Regions from separate parts of the Homo sapiens genome. Here regions 2 and 3 are each linked to region 1. The links are contacts of gene promoters, found by promoter capture Hi-C in human tissues and cell types (Jung and others, 2019). All regions are on one chromosome and are shown on one strand. The core of a region is centred on a gene start or on the middle of the fragment in contact, and the rest is flanking DNA. Distances in the headings are between cores, read along the strand shown. Region 1 holds the start of LMNB2 (lamin B2). Region 2 holds the start of ZNF556 (zinc finger protein 556). Region 3 holds the start of DIRAS1 (DIRAS family GTPase 1).

Region 1 (3,847 bases), core at 556-3,055:
TGAGGGGCCTAATTCCCACCCCAGTCACCAATCTCTTCTGGATTCATCAGGGAACTCGCTAAAGCTCCAGGGAGAACTGAGACCACGTGACTCACCCCAGAGACTCCAGGGAGACCCCCCACACACCCCATCTTGGGCCTCCTCAGAGGGCCTGGGCCCCCCAGTCTCCTTGGAGCCCAGAGACCACCCCCATTCCACCCCAGATACCCCAATACCCAGCTTCATCCCCAGAGACTCCCACTCACACCCCCTCAGTTGGGGGGGGTCCGCCAAGTCTCCTTGGAATCCTCTGAGGGACGAGGCATATGGGGGGCTGCAGCCCAATACTCAGGGAGCCCCCAAATCCCCAGGACCTCTCTTTGGTGGGGAGCCCTAGTCTGTAACCCCCATGGCCCCAAAATGCACCTCTCACGGAAGGGTCCCCAGAGCTAGCTGGAGGCCCCTCTGCAGCCCTCACTCAGGACACGGAAGATCTCCTGGGACCCCCTCCATAGGTGGGGCATTCCTGGTCTGCACTTTTCACTCAGTGCCCTAGAAACCCCCTGGAGGTCCCCAAGAGAATGGGCCACTCCGGTCTGCACCCCTCCCAAGGGGTCCCCCAAGATCTCGGAAACTGCGGTGGGCAGGGCCTGCCCAGGTGGCACCCCTCACTCAGGGTCTCCCCCTGGAGATCCCCGAGGCCAGGCTGACCCCACCCCTGCTCAGGGTCCCCCGTGATCGCGTACTCCGCGGTGGGCTGGGCCTGGCCGAGCTGCACCCCTCACTCAGGGACCCCTTGAAACCCCCTGGAGACCCCCAAGCCGGGACCCTTCCCGGTCTGCACCCCTGCCCAGGGTCCCCGCGATCGCGCACCCCGCGGTGGCCAGGACCTGCACCCTTCATCCAGGAGCCCCCCGCAAACCCCCTGGAGACCCCAAGCCGGGAGTCGTTCAGAGTCCCCCGCGATCGCGCGCCCCGTGGTGGGCGGGGCCTGGCCGAGTAGCACCTTTCACTCAGGGACTCTCCGAAACGCGGCGGAGATCCCCGAGGCCGGACTGTCCCCGTCTGCATCCCAGCTCAGGGTTCCCCGCGACTGGGAGCCCCGCAGTGGGCTGGGCCTAGCCGAGCAGCACCCCTCACTCAGAAGCCCCCAAACCTCCTGGAGACCCCCGAGCCGGAGCCTGTCCCCGTCTGCACCCCCGCCCAGGGTCCCCGCGATCACGCACCCCGCGGTGGGCGGGGCCTGGCCGAACTGCACCGCTCACTCAGGGGCCCCTCGAAACCCCCTGGAGACCCTCGAGACCCGGGCCCGTCCCTGTCTGCACCCAGGGTCCCAGCGATTGCCCACCCCGCGGTGGGAGGGACCTGGCCGAGCTGCACCCCTCACTCAGGGGCCCCCCGAAACCCCGCGGAAACCCCCGAAGCCGGGGCCCGTCCCCGTCTGCACCCCCGCCCAGGGTCCCCGCGATCGCGCGCCCCGCGGTGGGCGGGGCCTGCCGGCTGCACCCCCGCCCGGCCCCTAAGCCCCGGCGCCCACCTCGCGCGTGGTCACCTCCTCCTTCTCTGAGATCTTGAGCAGGAGCCGGTCGTTCTCCAGCTCCAGCGCGCGGACGCGGTCGATGTAGTGCGCCAGGCGGTCGTTGAGCTCGCGCAGCTCCTCCTTCTCCTGCAGCCGCGACAGGCGCGTGGGCGACAGCGGCGTGGCGGGCCCGCCCGCGCGGCCGGGCAGCGGCGTGGCCATGGTGGCGGCGGCTCGCGGCCTGCGCTGCTCCCGACGGCGGCCCGGGCTCGGCGGGCTCATTCAATCCGCGCCGCCGGCTGCAAGATGGCGCCGCGCCGCGCCGCGCCCGCCGCCCGCCGCGGCGGGGCAGCCTGGGACTGGTAGTCCGACCGCCGGGCGCGCGCGGGGCACGCCGGAAGTTGAAGTCTCCGTCCAGCTCTCGCTTCGCAGAGGCGCTGACTCCAGAGACAGACTTCCTGGCTGCAAACTCCCAGCTCCGCCACGAGGAAACAGCGTTGGGTTGCTTTCTAGTACCTGTTTCCCCACTTAGAGAACCTCAAAACGTGTTCAAAGAACCAGACACAAAAGGCCATATAGGGCCGGGCGTGGTGGCTCACGCCTGTAATCCCAGCACTTTGGGAGGCCAAGGCCGGTGGATCACTTGAGAAAAGAATTTCGAGATCAGCCTGGACCACATAGGGAGACCCCCCCACACCATCTCTACTACGGAGGCGCGCGCCGGTAATCCCAGCTACTTGGGAGGCTGAGGCAGGAGAATCTCTTGAACTTGGGACGTGGAGGTTGCAGTAAGCCAAGATCGCGGCACTGCACTCCAGCCTGGGCAACAATGAGAAACTTTGTCTCAAAAAAAAAAAAAAAAAAAAAAAAAAGCCATATAGTGTACAATGCCACTGATATAAAATGTCCAGAAGAGGCTGTCAAGGAGTATGAATTTCAACAAATTGAGTTTAATGATCTCATTGGCTCTTATTAGCAATTCATGAATTGGATAGCATTCAATCTATTAAATAGGCACTCCAATGAGCTGAGCAGAGAGGATGGGCATTCTGCATTACAGGCAGAAAAGGCTGAAGAAAGGAGAAATAAGAATTAAAATAAAAGCCAGGCCAGGTACAGTGGTTTGCTCACGCCTGTAATGCCAGCACTTTGGGAGGCGGAGGTGGGAGGATAGCCTGAGCCCAGGAGTTTGAGACTGGCCTGGGCAACATAGCAAGACCCCATTTCTAAAAATAAAAATAAAAAAATTAGCCAGGTGCAGTGGCTCACACCTGTATTCCCAGCACTTTAGGAGGCCAAGCCGGGCAGATCATGAGGTCAGGAGTTCGAGACCAGCCTGACCAATATGGTGAAATCCCGTCTCTACTAAAAATACAAAAATTAGCCAGGCATGGTGGCACATGCCTGTAGTCTCAGCTACTCGGGAAGCTGAGGCAGGAGAATTGCTTTAACCCGGGAGGCGGAGGTTGCAGGGAGCCAAGATTGAACCACTGCACTCCAGCCTAGGCAACAGAGTAAGACTCCACCTCAAAAAAAAAAAAAAAAAAAAATTAGCTGGGCGCCTATAGTCCTAGGTATTTGGGAGGCTAAGGTGGCAGGATTGTTTGAGCAAGAGAGGTCAAGGTTGCAGTGAGCCCTGATCACATCACTGCATTCCAGCCTGGGTGACAGAGTGAGAGTTTGTCTCAAAAAAAGTAAAAATAAAAATACGAAATAAAAACCAATTGGTTGTTTCAAAGTTACTTTTTTCATAGGGTCTGTTTTAACCCCCTCTATTTTGAGGGTACTTCCCTATCAGGTTAACCGGTCCCCTTTGGCTTGGTGGCTGTGAATGTTTTTTTTTGAAAACCTGCACCCTTTAAAGTTCAGTTTGAGGCCAGGTACGGGTGGCTCTCACCTGTAATCTCAGCACTTTGGGAGGCTGAGATGGGGAGATCGCTTAAGCCTAGGAGTTTGAGAACATCCTGGGCAACATAGTGAGACTCTGTCTCCAAAAAAAAAAATTTTTTTTTTTTGGAGACAGAGTCTTGCTCTTGTCACCCAGGCTGGAGTGCAATGGCATGATCTCGGCTCACTGCAACCTCCACCTCCTGGGTTCAAGCAATTCTCTGCCTCCCGAGTAGCTGGGATTACAGGCACCCGCCACCATGCCCAGCTAATGTTTGTATTTTTAGTAGAGACCTGGTTTCACCATCTTGGCCAGGCTGGTCCTGAACTCCTGACCTCGTGATCCACCCACCTCGACCTCCCAAAGTGCTGCAGTTACAGGCGTGAGCCACGGCACCCAGCCAAAAAAATTTTTAATAATTAGCCACATGTGCTGGCACACACCTGTAGTCCCAGCTCCTC
Region 2 (3,847 bases), core at 671-3,170, 410 kb after region 1:
TGAGAACAAGAAAGAGCTGGAGTCTTTTAAAAATTAACTGCCTGTTTTTCTGTGGCTAGTGAGCCTTATCTCTCCTCCCTTCCCAGGCATTGTGAAGGCCCTGTTTCCCTAGTTGTGCAGCTGCAAGTTCACTAGACAGATAAACTCAAGTTGCAAAACATGTTTTGCCTTGAAAAGTAAGAAATGATGTAATGCACGTCTCAATTAATTGAATAACTCTCTTTGTCTCTCGCTTCTGTAATATGCTTCCCCCTGCACAGATCTCCCCCGGCCCCACAAAATGCTTCAAAGGTAACTTAACTCTTTGTTCAGGGCTCAGTCCTTTGGGTGTTAATCGGACTGGGCTGGTGCAGCTAAATAATAAATATCCTCCTGAACCCCATCGGTCTCTCTGATTCCTTATCAATCTCGCTACAGTGTCGTTTGAGAAAAGAACTGAGCACCTTGATCACTGTCAGTAGCATCTGTAACCCCAAGGGAAGGGCGGGTCTTGGTGAAACCCTGTATTGTGGCTCAGCAGGAGAACGTCTGGTGGGATTGGTAAGGAATATTTGCATTTAAGTGGCTTCCGTGATCACAGTATACGGAATAGCCTCTGCAAAGGTGGGCGGGGACCCTATAAAATCTATTTGCTCTCAGCCCTACCAACAGGCTTCCAGGGATTATGCCTCCTTGATTATATGTCATTTGCCTGTAGACTATTCATCTGCCTGCACATTGAGCGCTCAGCTGTGGTGTTTGAGTTTTCATAGGTACACAGATATTCGTGACCTTGATTTTTACTTGAGAAACTGTGAGGCAAAATATCCCCAGAGTGCTTTAACCTCAAAATATTGACCTAGGATACAGTTGTTGCCACAGTTTTTTTTAAGTGTGTTTTCGGTTTTTTTGTTTTGTTTTGTTTTCTATGTTTTTGTTGTTGTTGTTGTTTTTGAGACGGAGTTTCCCTCTTGTTGCCTAGGCTGAGTGCAGTGGGGCAATCTCAGCTCACTGCAACCTCCGCCTTCCAGGTTCAAGCGATTCTTCCCCCTTAGCCTCCGAGTAGCTGGGATTACAGGCACCCACCACCACACCCGGCTAATTTTTTGTATTTTTAGTAAAGACAGGGTTTCATCATGTTGGCCACACTGGTCTCAAACTCCTGACCTCAGGTGATCCACCCACCTTGGCCTCCCAAAGTGCTGTGATTACAGGCATGAGCCACCGCGCCCGGCTGGCTAGACCATTGCTAATGGCTCAAGAGTTCAGTTCTAGCAATTGTGCTGACCCTAGTTAGGGAATGGTAAAGCTTTCGTTGGTCACTCACTTGACCCCATGGGCCTCCCCAGGTGTCTACTGGTCAGGAGAGAGAGGGGACCTCCTCCAGTGTCATGGAATCTGACAACAGACTGAGGACAGAAGAAGCTGCTTTTTTCTACGGTGGATACCCCAAGGGCCCAGGTTTCCCTCTAAGTCAGTACCACTTTCATTTCAGGAAGGAGACCACCGTGGATGGGGGCTGCTGCCTGCAGGACCCGAGACCTGAAAACTGACCAATCAGGCAGCTGGGGTGGGGCCTAGAGAACTGACCAATCAGGGGAGTTGAGGTGGAGCATCCGGATGAGAACTGTCAATCAGGGGGGTTGGGGCAGAGCCTGGAGACCTGTCAAATCAAAGGAGCTGAGGCAGGGCGTGGAAACATGACCAATTAGGAAAGCTGGGGTGGGGCCTGAAGAACTGCCCAATCAGGGGAGCTCAGGGGATAGCAAGCTGACCAACCAGAAGAGGAGGGGCAGAGTCTAAAGAACTGTCCAATCAGGGGAGTTGGGATGTGACTGGTGAACTCTCCAATCAGAGATGAGCAGAGAAGAGAACCATCCAATCACAGCCCCAGGGGCGGGGCGTTGCTGTCCTCCCTGCAGAGCACACCCGGCCTGCCCTGAGTGACCACAGGTGTCCCCGTCGTGCTCACCTGCACCGGCTGCGAGGAGCAGGGAGCTCCTCAAAGAGCTCAGGAACGGACAGGACATGGTGAGTGCAGGGCAGGAGCCGAGCCGGAGCCGGAGCCCTGGGAGGGGAGGGTTGGAAGCGGCCAGAACACGCTGAAACTCCCGGGGGAGCCGCCCGGAACCCCCATGCAGCCTCTGTCCCTGTGTCACCCCCGGGTCCTGCGGGGAGTTTCCTCCCCTGCCCCAGTCTTCATTCCCTGGAAAGTCGTAGTTGTCAGGACGCTGGGATGGAGGGGAAAAAAAGGCAGAAATGACTCCTGCCCTGTGGGGTCTCGCGAAGTTAATTGGAAGAAAAACTAACCCAAAGTACAAAAAACAAAACAAAAAAAAAAAAAACCTCACCCCAGCGAGGCGGTGCAACAGCCCCAAAGCAGAATGCGCTTTGGATGCAGACTTTGGGCCCAGGCCCACGTCCCTGGGAGGGGCGAGGGGTGGACAGGTGGTGCGGGCGCTCCACGTGGCGGCACGGGCTGGCCTGACCCCAAAGGCCCGCAGGCCGGACTCCAGCCCAGCCGCCCCTGCCTGGGCCTCTCTCCTTCTAAAGATTGATTTGGTTACTTGAGCCTCAGATTTTTTCAGTCAATGGAACATACAGTAAATAATAGAGTTTGAAAGATAAAATATTTCCAAGGAGGTGAATTTCAGAAAAAAATAAAGTTCTCGTCTTACATTCCATTTGTTAAAAATTCTAGCGTGCCTTTTTTTTTTCTTTTTATTTTCTGTTCCTTTTTTGCCCGTGTGGTTAAGTTTCTCACATCTGTTGTTTTATTTTCGGTGATGACAAATGGGATTCCAGGGCTTAGCCCTTGACGGGGCTCCCGGGAAAAAGAATCGCAGAGAAAGAGAGAAAATCTCTCTTTTATTATGACACGCCCCGAAATGAATACATTCCTACAAGAAAAAAATGTTTGGTATATAATTTGGTGAATTACAAAAACTCGCTAAAATATCAGTTATTCTCCTTTTCCAGGATGGAGAATTTGTGATAGATGATAATTCTGTTCTTTTATTTTTTGTTTTTATTTTTTGAAACGGAGTCTTGCTCTGTCACCCAGGCTGGAGTGCAGTGGCGCGATCTCGGCTCACTGCAACCTCCGCCTCCTGAGTTCAAGCGATTGATTCTCCTGCCTCAGCCTCCCCAGCAGCTGGGACTACAGGTGTGTGCCACCACGTCCAGCTAATTTTTGTATTTTTAGTGGAGACAGGGTTTTACCATGTTGGCCAAGCTGGTCTCCAACTCCTGACCTCAGGTGATCCACCCGCCTTGGCCTCCCAGAATGCTTGGATTACAGGCAGCATGTGCCACCATGACTAGCTAATTTTTTTTTTTTTTTCAGATGGAGCCTCGCTCTGTCACCCAGGCTGGAGTGCAATGGCGCGATCTCTGCTTACTGCAACCTCCGCCTCCTGGGTTCAAGCGATTCTCCTACCTCAGCCTCCCGAATAGCTGGGATTACAGGCACGTGTGGCCACACCCAGCTAATTTTTGTATTTTTAGTAGAGACGGGGTTCCACCATGTTGGCCAGGCTGGTCTCGAACTCCTGACCTCAGCTGATCCACCCACCTCAGCCTCCCAAAGTGCTGGGATTACAGGCGTGAGCCACCACACCTGGCCCCTTTATCACTCTTTTATATTCACTCATAGGGATATATTGTTAGTGTTCATTAATTCCACTGCTTGCTAGTGACTATTCGGGTATTTTCAAATTTTTTCCATTGTGACCAGTGCCCCTAAAGACATTATTACATGTGTGTCCACTTGAATGCCTTATTCTCAGCTGCACTGCAGTATATCCTCATCCTCTCCCCAAGAGCCTGGTCCACATATTACCGCCTACATCTCAGTTGCTGGTAACTC
Region 3 (3,847 bases), core at 663-3,162, 260 kb after region 1:
CACACAGCACAGCAGATCCTGAAATGATGGAGGTGGGGGAAGAACGCTGGGGGGAGGGCGGGTGGCTTATCTCCAGAATTGATGTCCTCCCCTCCCCTTCCTCCTTCCAGGCTCTGGGGCAGCGGTGGGGGGTGGGGGAGGGGTGTTCCCCAGCAAGGTGGTCTACAGTGGGAGAGGAGGAGGAACCAGTTTCTACCTGCTGCACTGGGGGTGGGGGTGTGTTTATGGGGAGGGTCCAGAGGTTCCCCGGGGGTCAGTGGTTTGAACCTAAACAGGCAAATTCAAGTCCCTAAGCCTCCGTTTTCTCTTCTGTGAAATGCGAGCCACTGTTGGGGCAAGTAAGGTGACAAGGTGGAGAAAGGCCCTAGGCAGTGCCCTGTACAGCGGAGACCCCGATCACAATTGTGATCACAGTCACAAGGGCTTGGGGCCGGTGGGCAGGGCACTTGGCTGTGCCTGTTGGTTGCAAAGGCACCTTCTGGATTATCAAGGGTAACAGATTTGCCAGGAAAAGAAAAGAGGCTGATGAAAGCGCCAGCTGACACAGTCCCCAGTTGTGATGAGCCAGGCAAACTTCTGGGCGCCTCGGCAATGCCAACTCATGTGATTGGCTGCCGGGTTTGTGGACTACATGCATAGTAATTTCTCGGCATTCGGAGGAGGCTGGGGGTGCTGGTGGTGGGGGGGAGGCGGCCTGTGCTGCAGACCCTGCCCTTTCCTGGGTGGGCGCCCTGAGAGGCGGGCACGCTGCTGTGCAGAAAGACGCCACCAAGACCGGCCTGGGGTCCTAATGGCCATGGGTTCTGTGGACCCAGATCCAGCCTTTGCCTTGCTGCGGGCACTGAAGCTCCAGCCCCCATGAGCAGTACTGTCCTCCCCGCTGGGTCTGGAATCCCTGACCAGAAAGGCGCTTGCACTCAACAGCCCCGAAGCCCACGCCACTTCCCACCTCCACCGCCTGGGGGGTGCGGGTGGAGGGAGGGGGTCGTGGGCACCGAGGCAGGAGCAGGAGGGGCTGGCTCAAGGTCACAGAGCAGGGGGGTGGAGGCGCACAGCGGGGCTGGAAGCCCACCCTGCTTGGCTAGACTCCTGGGGTTTCCCGCCTGTGCGGGGCAGCCCACCCCCAGACGTCCAGGCAGGGCCAATCTACCCCAGCCCTGGGTCCCTGAAGCCCGGCTCCCGGCCGGGCACGGCGTGGTTGGTGGGGGCGGGGGTGTCAAAGCAAAGCTCAGGGTCAGGAAAGCAGAGAGAGCCGCGACCCAGGGGTCTAGCGGGGGTCACGCCTGACCAAGGGTGGGGCGGGGGTCTGACCCAGGGCCGCCTGGCCGGTGAGGGGTTTGATGGAGAAAGGGCCTGCTCTAGGGGGCCCGAGGGCGCAGAGGCACAGTGCGGGGCCAGCCCAGGGGCGACCCTTGACTCAGGAGGACCTCAGTGGTGGAGAGGAGGAGCCCACCCCGGGGAGGGGGCGCGGAGGGAGGGGCTTGGCTGGGCAGCGGGGCGGAGGGCGAAGAAGGCGGCTGCAGGAGGGAGGAGGCCCTGCCCGAGGGGACCAATGCGGAGAGGGGCGGCGGGGTGGGCCTCGGTGGGGCGGGCTCGGCAGGGGGGCGCCCTCCGGGTGGGGGAGGGGAGGCGGCCGGGAGCTGTCCAAGGTGAGCGCGGAGGGGCCGGCCGGGCCCGGCGGGAAGGGACGGGGGACGCCCGGCGAGGGGCCCCGGAGCCACGCGGGGAAGGGCCCGGCCCCAAGGCCCGGGAGGCTGGGGCCGGGACAAAGGAGGGACGCGCGGCGGGGAGGACGGCCGGCTGGGGGCTGCGCAGGGACCCCCTCCCCGCCCCGGGCCGCCTACCTGGGCCCGCTGGTCCCTGCGGCGCCGCGGCCGCTGCTCCTGCCCGCTCCGGTGTCCGCTGGCGCCGCCGCCCCCCGCCCGCCCGAGCCGCCGCAGTCGCGCCCGCGCCGTCCCCGCCCGCCGGGCCCCGCGCTCCGCCCCGCCCCGCCCCGCCCCGCCCCGCCCCGGGGACCCGCGCCCACGGGGCCGGCGCGCCGCCCGGCCAAGGTCACCGCCGCCCCACGCGGGACCCCTGCCCGCGCCCGGGGTGGGAGAGGTCGCCAGGATCCGGGACCCCCGCCCTGCCACGTAGCCACCTGCGCGCGCCCTCCCTCGGGGTGGGAGCTGGGGCCGCTTCCCGGGGAACCCCGAGTGGGGGCCAGGAGCCCGGCTTGGGAGGAGCAGAGTCCAGCCGGGGGTGGAGGGCTTTGGCAGAAATGCGGATAAAGGGGGTGCAGAACGGGACCCCTGAGGCCGGCTGGGGCCCGGTCACACGCAGGGCGGGGAATCAGAGGGGTGCGTTGTGAAATGAGTAAGTCGATAATCAACAATCAATGAACAGGTTTAGAAGCGGGCAGAGGCGGGAGGGTTCAGGTCAATGGGGTGCACCTGGAGGCCCACCCATCCCAGGGGCCTGGGCAGGGGCGGGATGGGGGCAGAAGCGGACTCAGCGCTCTGTAGGGCTGGTTTTGTGGAGGCGGAGGCAGCCCATGGCAGTCAGGCCTAGGGAGGTGGGGGGTGAGCAAAGGGGGCTGGCGCTGCTCTGCAGCGGATGGGTTTGCCGTTTTCGGTTAGGAAAATGTTTGTGTTCCCCCAACAGGAGGTGTCTTAGGGGAGCACTGGCTTTTCTGATGCGTCTGTGTGTCCACAAGAGACCATGGTTCCGCCTCCATTTTGGAGACCGGGAGGCCGAGGTTCCTTTTGGCCTCATCGGGCAGATCCCAGAGGAGACTGGACTTTGGGGTCTAGTGACCAGGCCAGAAGGTGCTCTCAGGGGTGGGTGCGGGACAGTCCCAGGCCGCAAGGCTGTCAGAGGAAGGCGCCCCTTGGTGGAGAGGCCAACTCTGGGACCCACAGGGGTCTCTCCAGAGTCAGAGCCATCAGTGGGTGAGAGGCTGGTCTGGAAGGTGGTGAGCTCCCCATCACCAGGCCTGTGAGCAGGTGAACCCCTTGGGCCCTCAGCTCCTGGGGTTCTCCATGACCCACCATTTCCATGGCCCTGGATGAGGTGGGCCCATCTGCCTCTGCGGAGACTTGGCACTGCCTCCAAGACCACTCAGTCCCCTCTCCTGTTGCCACTGAGGCTGGGGCACTGAGGTTCAAGCGGCTTTGGGGCTCAAGGAGCTCTATTTCTCCCTGATTTGACCCCACTCCCCCTCCTGGCCTCCAGACCCCTTCCTCCAGCCCTCCTTCCACTCTGCCACTCAATGCTCCAACTGCAACATGGGCCTCCCCTGCTCTAACGCCACCCATGGCTCCCTTCTCCCAGGCCAAGGTCCAGCTTCTCAGCCTGGCATCCATGGCCCGGCCTGAGTGCTCCTGGCGTGCACCTCCCTCCCACCCTGACCCCAGCCCTGCGGGAGCACCTCAGAGCATGGCCCGGCCCCTGACCCTCATCTGGGGGTGCCCTCAGCAGGAGATGGAGACAGCCCTGAGGGCAGACAAATCCCAGCTTCTGCTCTACATGGCTGCCTGCAGGGAAGTGCCTTCTCAAGCATCGGTTCCCCCATCTGTGAGTGACGTCACTGTTGCCCGCCTGTAGGGTTGCTGGGAACACATGGGCAGGGCGCCCACCTACACGGGGCTGCTGGGCACCCAAGCACTCAGACGGCAGCCCTGCCCCTTCCCAGTCCGCCTGCCTGCCTTCGTCTCCTGAGTGACCCACCAGCGTGGGGCAGGGCGTCGGGCCGGCTCCCTGTCTCCTCCGGGCACCAGCTCAGGCCGGGGCAGGCTGACTCATGCGTAGGAGAGTGGGCAGGGCGGTAACTCCACGCTGCGGCTGCTATTTATAGCTCCCAGGCCAG

The links. The method cuts DNA at HindIII sites, captures the fragments that hold promoters and counts their contacts. A contact is called where the count stands out against the background at its distance.
Region 2: a contact is called between the fragment with the promoter of ZNF556 here and the fragment with the promoter of LMNB2 in region 1, in 3 of the 25 tissues and cell types used here (dorsolateral prefrontal cortex, lymphoblastoid cells and spleen).
Region 3: the fragment with the promoter of DIRAS1 here is called in contact with the fragment with the promoter of LMNB2 in region 1 in 4 of the 25 tissues and cell types used here (IMR-90 fibroblasts, aorta, dorsolateral prefrontal cortex and 1 more).

What each region holds. Positions count from the first base shown.
Region 1 is chr19:2,455,154-2,459,000 of GRCh38, forward strand. LMNB2 (lamin B2) reads right to left here and starts at 1,806. Exons shown (of 12, transcript NM_032737.4): 1 at 1,517-1,806. The coding sequence starts at 1,780. LINC01775 (long intergenic non-protein coding RNA 1775) reads right to left here. Exons shown (of 2, transcript NR_134931.1): 2 at 3,784-3,847. RefSeq lists an enhancer at 1-534 and silencers at 795-974, 1,205-1,294, 1,355-1,604, 1,725-1,904. The HindIII fragment of the contact is 70,551 bases long and covers 1-3,847 here.
Region 2 is chr19:2,865,415-2,869,261 of GRCh38, forward strand. It overlaps ZNF556 (zinc finger protein 556), which reads left to right and starts at 1,921. Exons shown (of 4, transcript NM_024967.3): 1 at 1,921-2,010. The coding sequence starts at 2,008. The HindIII fragment of the contact is 10,595 bases long and covers 1-3,847 here.
Region 3 is chr19:2,719,460-2,723,306 of GRCh38, forward strand. DIRAS1 (DIRAS family GTPase 1) reads right to left here and starts at 1,913. Exons shown (of 2, transcript NM_145173.4): 1 at 1,845-1,913. The HindIII fragment of the contact is 24,571 bases long and covers 1-3,847 here.